Regions from separate parts of the Homo sapiens genome. Here region 2 is linked to region 1. Evidence: promoter capture Hi-C in human tissues and cell types (Jung and others, 2019). All regions are on one chromosome and are shown on one strand. The core of a region is centred on a gene start or on the middle of the fragment in contact, and the rest is flanking DNA. Distances in the headings are between cores, read along the strand shown. Region 1 holds the start of GALNT13 (polypeptide N-acetylgalactosaminyltransferase 13). Region 2 overlaps GALNT13 (polypeptide N-acetylgalactosaminyltransferase 13).

What was found. Contacts are between HindIII fragments. The study calls those that stand out against the background at their distance.
Region 2: a contact is called between a fragment that was not itself captured here and the fragment with the promoter of GALNT13 in region 1, in 2 of the 25 tissues and cell types used here (dorsolateral prefrontal cortex and thymus).

The regions. Positions count from the first base shown.
Region 1 is chr2:153,868,542-153,874,582 of GRCh38, forward strand. GALNT13 (polypeptide N-acetylgalactosaminyltransferase 13) reads left to right here and starts at 3,381. Exons shown (of 13, transcript NM_052917.4): 1 at 3,381-3,762. The HindIII fragment of the contact is 9,874 bases long and covers 1-6,041 here.
Region 2 is chr2:154,387,834-154,393,633 of GRCh38, forward strand. All of the region lies in intron 9 of GALNT13 (polypeptide N-acetylgalactosaminyltransferase 13), which reads left to right. Among named protein-coding and RNA genes, the nearest start is that of GALNT13-AS1, 67 kb to the right of the region's middle. The HindIII fragment of the contact is 5,965 bases long and covers 1-4,768 here.

The DNA.
Region 1 (6,041 bases), core at 2,131-4,630:
TCCTTTATCCATCATTCCTAATAATTTGCCAAAACCTGGTAATTTAATTTCAGCAAGACATAACTATCTCACCCTTTATTTCCCTTTAGAATGAGCGCCTTGGTTAATCACATAATGGACAATTGTAGCTGCTAAACTCATATCCCTGTCTTTTGTATACTCTGTAGCTAAGGCCCTATACATTTGGCCTTATATTGGCCAATAGACATTCTTGGCCTGGTAGCCCTTGTATTGGCCTTATAGCCAAGAATTGTACAGTATTGGTCTTACCATTTATCTAAGCAAATACTTGCAATAGCTCCACTTTGATTAAAGATAAATGCCAAACTTTCTGTTTGAAAAAATATGACTTTTTAATAACTTTCAACACTCATTCAGATAAATTATTGTGGTTATTATTCTTATGAGGTAAATAATGATAACTACCTGATTTTTAAAAAAGTATTTAAACTTCAAGAAATATTGCAAAATTACTACAAAGAATTAACACATACCCCTCACCAAAATTTACCAATGGTGTTATAAAAGGTTGCCACATTTGCATCATCATTCTCTCTATAGGTATTTCTGGACCTTACAACCTCTATGTTCTTTTTACTGCAAAATATTTTATTATATTTTTTAAAGATCCAGGGCTTTCTTATATATGATCACAATACAATTAAATTAGGACACTTAATATTGATATAAAACTAATTTGATTATAAATAAAAGTCATACAGTTTAGATATTATAGTTTTTATTAATATTTTGAATTAGATTGTCTCAGTAATGCTCTTTATATTAATAGATATTATTCCCAGTTTGCTCTCCAATTCTGGATTACACATTGCATTTAGTAGTCATGGTTTTTAAATCTCCATTAGTCTGGAATATTTCCTCAGCTTTTCTTTGACTTTCATCACAGTGACATTTTTGAAAAGTATAGGCAAGATATTGTGTAGAATTTTCCTTAATTTAAGGCTTTCTTTGCTTTCTCGTGATTGCATTCAATTATGCATTTTTTAATCTGGAATCCTAAATCAATAATGTTATGTACTTCTCAGTGCATCATATCATGAGGCTCATGATATCACTTGGTCCCATTATTGGTGACTTTAACCTTGGTCAGTTGGTTAAGGTGATGTTTACCAGATTTATCCACTACATGTAATTTATTATTCGTTTGTAATTAAGGATCTATAGTATATTATAAAAACAGCCTCAAGTTATTTTTGTGTATGCATTCTCCTTGAAATATGGCATTATAGTTTCTCCCATCAAGACATGGACTATATTATCTATGTTTGGGCCATGTAACTTCCATGGCTAATGAGACACCAGCAAATGTACGTCCACAGAATCTCAGAGTACTTCACATTGGAGCTTGCACTCCCTTGTTGCTTTTTGGAGCCCTGCAACTACGACTACTGCTAGCCTATTGAAGGATGATGGGCTAGATTAAACAAAAGACAAAACATTGCAGCTGAGTCCCACACCCTCAAGACTAATAAGTATGCCACACCAGACAAGTGAGTGAAGCCATCCTAGATCTCTAAACCAAACTGAGCTAGCCAGGGCAGAAACCAACCTGACAACCCACAGAGCTTTGAGAAATTACAGATGTTTATTGGTTGGGGCTAATAAGTTTTGGAATGGTGTGTTATGCACCAAAAGCCAATACTTTCTAGGGTGATACTTTGGGACTACGTAAATATCCAATTACCCAAATAAATTTTACCAAGTTTATGATTCTGCCTAAGTTAAATATTATCACAAAGACTGCAAAATGGAATTGCGCCTTTTTTTAAGAGATGAAACATGTAAGAATGGGGGCTTATTTGTCTTTGAAAAACATAGGACTAGTAAGTAGCTGTATCAGCATCAGAACCCCAATCTTTTACCTGGTCCACAGTTTTTCTCAGTATGCCATGTAGAGGTGAGTGACCTGATGTTAGGACTGGAATTCACTAGAGAGAGCAGTAGAGAGACATTCCAGAGTGTTATGAGTGGGACCCTGTGTACTCACACATGCACAGAAGCATCTCTGGTAAATGCTCCATAATTGACGGTAGGGCAGGATGGACAATGTAGGAGGAGACATTAATACAGTTATTAACATAGAAATTTAAATGATACTTGACTCACGAAAAGATATAAAGATAATATCTCTGGAAATTGCCTTTCATGAGTATAATCAAGAATGGCATTGACATACTAGATTATGATTAATAGTATCATATGTTTGTCAAACGTGGCTGTTTAATATTTTTATGTAGTCGTTATATCCTCCCCCAATTCTGCCAAAAACATCCTATAAGATGTGTGAAGTGACACTGTGAGAAGCAAGGACCCCTGTCAGCCCTTATTACAAACAAGACAACTGACACCCGAAGGGCCAAAACTAGCCAAGAGCCACAGTGAATAAATTGCCAAGCAGGCACTTGAACTCGGCAATCCCAATTTCCTAGAAAAGTTCCTCTCCCATGGCAGTGGGGGACAGGTCCCAAGTCTTTGAGACGCTAATAATGTCTGCGTCTTAGGTTTCTGCCTTGTGCCAGGCACTGTTCTAAAATCTTTACATGTATTTAAACTCAGTACCATGGGGGTATTGGTACAACACATTAACTGAGACATTCATACGTCCAGGTACTTCGGAGTGGGTGTGTGTTTAATATCATACCTACTTGCCTGAGAAAGGAATTCAAAGCCCCACTTTTTTCTTTACCTCTTCATAAAAATTTGAGAGCCACAAGGAAGCGCTCTGTGTTTCCAGTACTCTTACAGTGCGTTCGGTGGCAGTAGTCACCGCCAACCAGAACACTAGGATCCTGCCAGGGTGTAGATACTGTAACCAACAAGAGGCCAACCTCCGTCCTTTCTGCGGAGGGCGCCGAAGCGTCAAGTACCCCGCAGCATCTCTCGGCTGGAGAGCCGACGGCAAGGGTGGGGTTGCCGGCGCTTTCCCCGAGGGCAGTCTCTGATCCTCCAGCTCCCCTCTAAGAGGCTCCCTGGTGCATTGGGCGAACGCGGTGCACGCAGGCCGGCTTTGGCGTTGTGGGGCCCCAAAGCGGCCAGGGGTCGCGAGGCGCCCTCCGGCGAGAGGAGCTGACCCCAGGGTTGCTCTTGGGGGCCGTGCCTGCCAAGTATCGCGGGACTTGCGCACATCGCAGAAGCGCCAGCTCCAGAAGCAGCTGGAGCGCGCTCGGTGCGCACCGCCCCAGCCCGGGGAGGAGCGGGAGCAGGGAGGGAGGAGGGCTGGGGGTGCTGGTTACGTAAATGATACTAGCCCAGTGAGAGGCCTCCAGGCTGGGGCTACGAGAGGAGGAGGGACCACGCGAGGAGGAGGGACCGGGAGGCGGCGGGCTGGGGTGGGAGGGGGGCGGGGGCCGGGGAGAAGTGACCAGGCGGCGGCGGCTCTGCTGAGGTGACAACGTGCTAGCAGCCCTCGCTCGCTCTGGGCGCCTCCTCGGCCTCAGCGTCCGCTCTGGCCGCGCTCGAGGAGCCCTTCAGCCCGCCGCTGCGCTATGAAGGCCCCTCTCTGGGGCTGGCCGAGGCTGGAGCCGGCTCCCTCTGCTCGCGGGCAAGTGTGAAGAGAGAGGCGCGGGCGGGAGCCGGGGCTGCGCGCGGCGCTCGCGGGCCGGCGCGGGTTCCAGGTGAGCGCGGACTCGGCGAGCCCCGCACTCGGCGCGGCCGGCCGGCGCCTGCTGGGCTTGATCTGAGGCTGAATCCCGTGTGTGGACCGCCGTTCCCTCTTCGCGGGATCGTTGGCCAGGATAGCAGGTCTCCGTCTCTTTCTCGCTTCCCCTCTTTTCCTCTTGATTGTCTGGGACGAGCTCCCTCTGGGCTGCCAGAGTGCCGGGGCTAGGTGCCGCAAAGTCCCGCGGCGAGTGCCGGGGCGCGGAGCCGAGCGCCCCGGGCCGGTCCCAGGGCAAAGGCAGGGGCGCGGGCGGACCTGGCGACGCGGCCTCCCGGGAGCTCCGAGTGCGCTCGCTTGCGGGGCTGCAGGTGTTGCGGGAGGACCGCGTGGCGCGGAACTTTCTGCCGCCGCCCACCTTCTGCTCTGCTTTTCTGGCTACCCCGGTGAGTTGTTGGTGGCGGGGGGGGGGGGGGGAGCGGCTCTGGCCCCCTCTGCGTTCTGGTGACGTTCCTCCGCGGGGGTGGCTCGGCCTCCAAGCCCAGACAACTTTCTCGCACCAGCTGCAGGCAGCCCCGGCTGCGTTGCGGGCGTTTCTACTCGACCCGACACCAGGCGCTCCCTGGGTCTTGGGTGTCTTCCTCGACGGTTGCCTTCGTATAGTGCCCCCTTTGCCTCGCTTTTTCAGAGTCCTCTTGCCTCTCATTCTCGCCGTGTGTGTCTCTGCCTCTGTTTCTCTTTCTGAGCCTTGGTCCCCTCAGTCCACACTCTCCGGCCATGTATCTGTTTTTTTCTCTTATTCTGTTTCCCTCTTTCTTTCTTGGGATATCTGTGTCCCTGTTAATCTGTCTTTCCTTTTGTCTCTCCGTTTTGCAACATTTGTTCTCTTTCTGTGTCTGCTTCTCGCAGCTTATCTCTGTCTCCCTCTGTCATCTCTCTGCCCCGTCTTCCCGAACACCAGCCCCGCGATCCCGAAGCGCCTTGGTTAGGGGAGCAAGCCCTGGCGCATCTAATGGGTATCTCCAGGTGCAGAGATTTTCCTGCGGGGTCAGTGGGGACGCGGAGGAGACAGCCTGCCCTTGTCCAGGCTGTCGTGGACCTGAAGGAGGGGCGCAAGGGGTTAGAGTGGAGGGCACCGCAGCAGGCTCCCCTTGCCGGGTCCGAGGGCGCTGCGCTGCTGCGAACCTGAGCGCACTGAGGCTGCTACTCTGGACAGCGAAAGCTGCGCAAGCCCCTCCCGCATACCCGATTCTTTGACTATGGTTAGTTGAATTTCCAGGAGGAGAGTCTGCCTCCCCAACCTTTATAGCCAGCTGCAGAAGAACGGACAGTGAGCAGGCAAACATAGATGCTTTGGGGTTCAGGGAAACTAACCTCGAAAGGGTGGGAGCTTTCTTCAGGCAAAGGTGTTGCTAGCAGAGGAGAGGAGCTTTGGGGACTGAGGTATGCCTGCCTTAAACTACCATGCATTCATTGCTTAGGAAAGCGGTTTCCTTGGAGAGATCGTGGTCAGCCTTCCCTGAAACAACATAACAACATAGAGGTTTTATTCGCAAGGCTAAAGGCACTTGGCTGCCAAAGCCCCCTTGAAATTTCTGGTATCCTTGAATATTTTCAGCTTTATGTGAAAGCTGCCTTTCCTCAGAGTCTCAGTCCGTCTCTCTCTCTTTCTCTCTCTCTCTTTTTCTGTGTCTCTCTCTCTCGCTGTCTCCCTGTCTCTCTCTCTCTGTCTCGTTTGCGTTCATGCCCTCTAGTGTTAAAGAAACCTGCTGGTTCGAGAATATTGAAAAGTAAGGTCAACCTATTGGTTATTTACTTTTGGACCTCTCACCTTCCGGGATAATTCTCCTTGTATTACACGCATCCTTTCCTTTTCCTCAAAGAATGACTTTTGCATTACATTACTAATCTTTCTTTCCCCCCGCACCCCCCTCCCGCAATCTCTGTTTTTTTTTTTTTTTTCTTTCCCCACGTCTCCTGCAGAATAAGAACCTTCATATTGAAACCCTGTTCGTTTGATTTGGGAATTGGATAGGTCTGGAGAATTTGCGTAGCCTAAGGCAGACTTTGAACATTAAAAAGATGCATTTCTCTGCACTGTTTGCCATAAACCAGGATTTCACATCTCTCCTTTAGCCCCTATCCACCTTCAATTCCATGGAGAATTTTCCTGGCTGCTTCTGCTTGTTTAAATAAATGCTTTTATTTCACCATTTCTGTGATGCTTATCCCATTCCAGGGCTTAAGGTACTTGCTTAAGTAGGGGCACTGTGTCTCGGATCCGCTTTGGAGAGGAAGAATAGAAAGCTTTTCTAAAGGAATTATAGGGTACTGCTGGTATAGATTAATTCCAGTTCGGAAAGTCCTGAGTGGGAATGTGAGAATGGAGGCTGTCTCAGATATGTAGTCCCTAGGACAGTGTGGG
Region 2 (5,800 bases), core at 536-3,035, 520 kb after region 1:
TTAGGTTGATCCCATTTCTTGGCTATTGTGAATAATGCTGCAGTGAACAAGCGAGTGCAGATATCCCTTTGACATATTGATTTCATTTCCTTTATATAAACTCAGAAGAGGAATTACAGTGTCATGTGGTAGTTCTATTTTTAGTTTTACAAGGAAGCTCCATACCACTTTTATAATGGCTGTACTAATTTATATTTCCATCAACAATATCTAAGAATTCCCATTTCTCCACATCCTCTCCAACATGTGTCTTTTATATTTCTGATAAAAGTCACTCTAACAGGTGCGAGACGATACCTTATTGTGGCTTTAATTTGCACTTTCCTAATGATTAGTGATGTAAGCATTTATTTCATGTGTTTATGGGCCATTTGAATGTCTTCTTTTGAGAAATGTTTGTTCACGACCTTTGCCCATTTTTAATCAGGTGTTCTCTTGTTTTTGAGTTGAGTTCCTCATGTATTTCAGATTTTAATCCCTTATCAGATCCATGGCTTACATTTGTAGGCTTTCTCTTCACTTTGTTAATTGTTTCCTTTGCTGTGCAGAAGCTTTTTAGTTGGAAACCATCAAACTTGTCCATTTTTGCTTTTGTTGCTTGTGCATTTACAGTCAAATCAAACAATTTTTGTCCAGACAAATATGGACTATTTCTCCTGTGTTTTAGTACTTTTACAGTTTCAGATCTTAAATTTAAAATTTTAATCCATTTTGATTTGATTTTTATATTTGGTATAAGATAAGAATAAGATCTAATTTCTTCTTTTGCATGTGGATCTCCAGCTTTCCCAATACCATTTACAATTTGGTATTTAGATGCAATAGAATACAATAATTGCTAGCTGGATTAACAATGGCTTATTATTATATTATTTTAAAAAGGAGAAAAATGCAGATTCTTATTCATGAAGTTCATAATTACAATTACTGAGAGTAAATAACAAAATAAAGTCCACTTTCTATTTGGAATTTAGAAAATATCACAAAAAAATTATTAGCTTAAACTGTATATACTGGTCTACTCCTGTAATGTGAATATATATCATTAATATGACATACATAACAAACTTTATAATCAACTGCATAGTTTTGACTGTTAAAGGTAAAAAGGAGCTTTATCTCAATTTTTTATTATTTCATATATTTTAATTACAATAGCTGTATAATAAACATTCATGTGGCTTAACATTTTTCCATATTCTTACATAGACATAATTATTTTAATACGAGAGTTGTATTTTGTCAACCAGATATAACTTTGATTTGCTTAAGCATTCTTTTTGTTTTGTTTTGTTTTTGTTTTTGGGGGGGTGGTTTTTTGAGATGTGGTCTCGCTCTGTCACCCAGGCTGGAGAACAGTGGTGCCATCTCGGCTCACTGCAACCTCCACCTCCCGGGTTCAAGTGATACTCCTGCCTCAGCCTCCCAAGTAGCTGGGATTACAGGCACCCACCACAACTGGCCAGCTAATTTTTTGGTGTTTTTAGTAGAGACAGGGTATCACCATCTTGGCCACGCTGGTGTTGAACTCCTGGCCTCAAGTGATCTGCCCACCTCGGCCTCCAAAATTGCTGGGATTATAGGCATGAGCCACAGTGGCCACTTAAGCATTGTTTATTGAATAAAAATAATTTCCCTTTTAAGTTATGCTGCAATATGTATTCTTGTGCATGAAATTGTAAGCTTTGGCATGCATTAGGGTATTCTTTCTTCAGGTACTTTGATTTTAGAGAGACAGAACTATTAGACTTACTAGACATCTATTAGGGGAAGAATTTAACTGAAATAATTATTATCATTGAAATGCCAGGGGTTTGGTCTAAGGCCCATTGCTTGCCTCACAGAAGTCCAATCCCTGAGACAATGAGTATTGCCAGGGAAGAAGGCTTTAACTGGGTGCTGCAACCAGGGAGACAAGAGAGCAGTCTCAAATCCATATCCTCAATTGACTAAAATTAGAGGTTTATATAGCAGCAAAAAAAATGTAATTATGTGTAGGGAAAACAGGAATTAGTGAGGGGTATTAAAGAGGAGCTGGTCAACAGGAAGCAGTTGGTTGGTTTAGGCAGTCATGATGGGTGAGGGGGTCTGGTGTCTCACTGTCCAGATGCAGTGATCTGGTAAGTTTCAGTTCCTTCAAAATGTCTGGGTGGCCTGATAGTTGATTTCCTAAGAAAGGAACTTGGATAAGACAAATACAATTTTCTCAAGTTTTAAGACTGAGAGGGTGAATTTCTATGTTTATATAAAAAAATCATAAATATCAGTTCTATGGGACAGTTGAGCCAGTGTCATTATGATCTTCCATCTAATATCTATTTAAAATTTAAAACATGATTTCTCTAAAGAGTGAATTTAATACTATAATGCAATAGACTTACTATGAATAAAAGACAGATTTTTTTATACTTAAATTCAGGGTGCATGTACAGATTTGTTACATGAGTAAACTTGTGTCAAGGAGGTTTGTTGTACAGATTATTTTATCACCTGGGTATTAACCCTAGTACCCATTAGTTATTTTTCCTGATACTCTTTCTCCTCCCACCCTCCATCCTCCAATAGACTACAGTGTGTATTGTTCCCCTCTATGTGTCCACATGTCCTCATGAGTTAACTCCCACTTATAAGTGAGAGCACGTGGTATGTGGTTTTCTGTTCCTGTATTAGTTTGCTAAGGATAATGGCTTCCAGCTCCATCCATGTCCCTGCAAAGGACATGATCTCGTTCTTTTTTATGGCTGCATAGTATTCCATGGTGTATATATACCACATTTGCTTTATCTAGTCTATCATTGATGGACATTTAGCTGGATTCCATGAAAAGACAGCTTATTTAAAAAAAATAGGAGCCCATAAATTTTATCATTTACCTATTAATGAAACCTGCAAACCTGGAATTAATTAAAATACTCTTTTGTTGGTACTCATTATGCATCTTTATTTCATTGTCAAAGCCTTTACATGGCTTTTGCAAGTTCCATTGAAAGACTTGCCTTAAAAACTTATAAATTTTTGCCACAGCGTGTGTCACCTTCTAATGTATTTACTGTTTATTTAGGTCTTTCTCCAGTAGAATATAAACTCCATGGAGGAAGATAATTTTGTTTTGTTCACAGATATATCCCAAGTGCCTAGAAAAGTCCCTTGTACAGAGCTTGACCACAGTAAATATCTGTTACCTTAATCTTGGCTTGGCCTCTGCTGTCTATCTTTAGATAGTCTTCTCTTTTACGCTCACACTCTATATCTTTCCATATGTGGATTTATCTTACTTCTATATTGGTGTCACTTTCATAGGCCTTTGTTGTATGGTAGCCCCAAAAACTCCAGGCTTAACTCATCTATACAGCTACCCAGTTCCAGAGGAAATAGAGTTTCAACTTTCTAATAGCCCTAGTGTATTCTCAAGGGTATGCTTTTATTAGGCTGACTGGTTTATTTGCCCATTCCTGAGTCAGTCATTGTTATCTGGGTTATATGTAAGGAATTGAAATAGAATGCTCTAGTTATTTTGGGTGCTAATCAAAATCTGGACTGAGCAAAAGCAGGATCCCTTGGAGCTTGTTAGAAATATGGACCCTAAGGCCCCCACTCCAGACCAACTGAATCAAATTGCATATTAACTAGATTTTCTGGTGATGTGCCTTTAGTCTGTGCTCACAGATGGAACTGGAAGAGTGGGGAAGGCAATGAAACCAGCCCCATCCAAGCTGAAAGTGAAGTGGGAGTGGTTTCCCAGAGAAACTCAAGTGCTTTTACCAGAGGGCAGAATGGATGTCAGGCGTGCAAAACAACAGCTATCCAATGCAATATATGATGTGTATTAAGCAATTATTATATTCCAGTCATTGTACTAAACCTTTTCCAGGCATTATTTATTTAGTAGTCACAATATCTTGTAAGATATTATCAGGTAGGATACCTTATCCTTCAAAAAAGATAACTCATCATCCAAAGTTTTTGTTGAGAAGGCAGTGAGCAAAGTGATCTGAAATATGATATCAGATAGTAATAAGTGCCATGGAAAAAAATTAAGCACGATAGAGGGATAAAGACAGACCTAGGAAGATGAGAGAAAGTGATCAATTTTGATAGGAAGGTCAGAATAAACCTGAAGAAGTAAATTTTCAGCAAAGACTTGGACCAAGTAAAGAACAACTCATGAAAGTTGCAGGGTAACACCATTACAGACAGAAAAAAAGAAGTATAAAGCCTTGAATTGTTGAATTATGAATGAACGTGGGATGTTTGAAGAAATGTAAAGAATGAAAAAAAGTGGGGCTAGAATGAAGATGTTACTGAAACACAGGGGTTCTGTCTGTGTCCTGCTGCTTGCTGCACTGGAAGTCAATCACCAAGACAACCAGTATTTACAGGGAAGAAGGCTTTAATAGGTTGCTGCAGCCAAGGAGATGGGAAATCAGTCTCAAATTCATCTCTTCAACTGACCAAAATTAGGGGTTGATGTAGCAGGGAAGAAATGTAACCATGTATGGGAAACTAGGAATTAGGGATAAGGAAGAGGAATTGATCAACAAGAAACAGGTGGTTAGGCAATCATGACAGGTGAGGGGGTCTGGTGTCTCACTGTCCAGATGCGGTGATCTGGTAAGTTTCAGTTCCTTTATATTATCTGGTTGGTTTCCTGAGAAAGGAACTTAGATGAGACAAATGTAATTTTCTCAAGTTTCAAGACCAGGAGGGCCATTCTTTCATGTTTATTCAAAAGAAACCATAAACATCACTTCTGTGGGACAATTGGGCTGGTTTCAAAGTGAGTATAAATGAATTCAAAAAGCCAGCCAAGAGCTATTTTCTAAAGGATCTTCAGGCAATGGTTAAGACAGATTCAATTATTCTTAGTGTTATGGAAAATCACGGTACACTTTTGGTCAGGGGAGTAACATGATTTGATTTGTATTTTAAATATATTGACTAAGGAACAGGCAATAGTGAATAAAATATAGGTAGAGGAATGTAAAATGTTTTGGGGCTAGTTAGGAGACTATTGCAATGCTAGTGTAAGCAAGAGATAGGAGAAGTTAGGACCAGGATGGTAACAGTAGAGTGGCTGAGGATATATTGTGAAGTAGAGCCAACAGGAATTCCTAATGAGTTAAAAATGTATATGTGCGAGAGAAAGAAAATTATTTGTTTTTCCTTGAGAAAATCAGTGGATATTTGTGCTAGATACTGAAATGAAGAACCTTGGAGATGGAGCAAGTTGGAGAAACAAATTTTTGACTTGTCAAATTTGAGATGCTTAGTATAGATCCCAGTAAAATTATTGGGTAAACAATTGGATAACCTACTTTGAAGAGGTTTGAGTTGCAGATAAGAGTTTGGGGAACAAGTAAGATTACATATCAAACCATGGATCTGAATAATCTAATTCAGGCTCTACAGTCACTAAATCATACAGCACAAGAAAAGTCTCTCCATCTTGTAGCTGCACCCACTGGGATACAAGTCCTCCTCAGTCCCTGTGGCAAAGGAAAAGAAAGCTCTCATACTTGCTTTCCTATCTTTAAAATCAGAAGTGACATAACCCCTTTCTCTCACAGTTTGTTGGCCAGGACCAGTTAGATGTCCTTACCTAACTGCAGGGACCTGAGAAATGTGGAGGAGTACATGGAGTGTTTGTGAGGACTGTTGTCTCTTAATATGTCTCACTTCTAAGAAGAAAAACATGGATTCAGAGAGAAAAAGCCATTCTCACCAAAATGTTAAGATAGCCCACCATATTTTTTTGTACATTTCTAAAGGTAATTTAGCATAATTATCTAGGATTAGAACA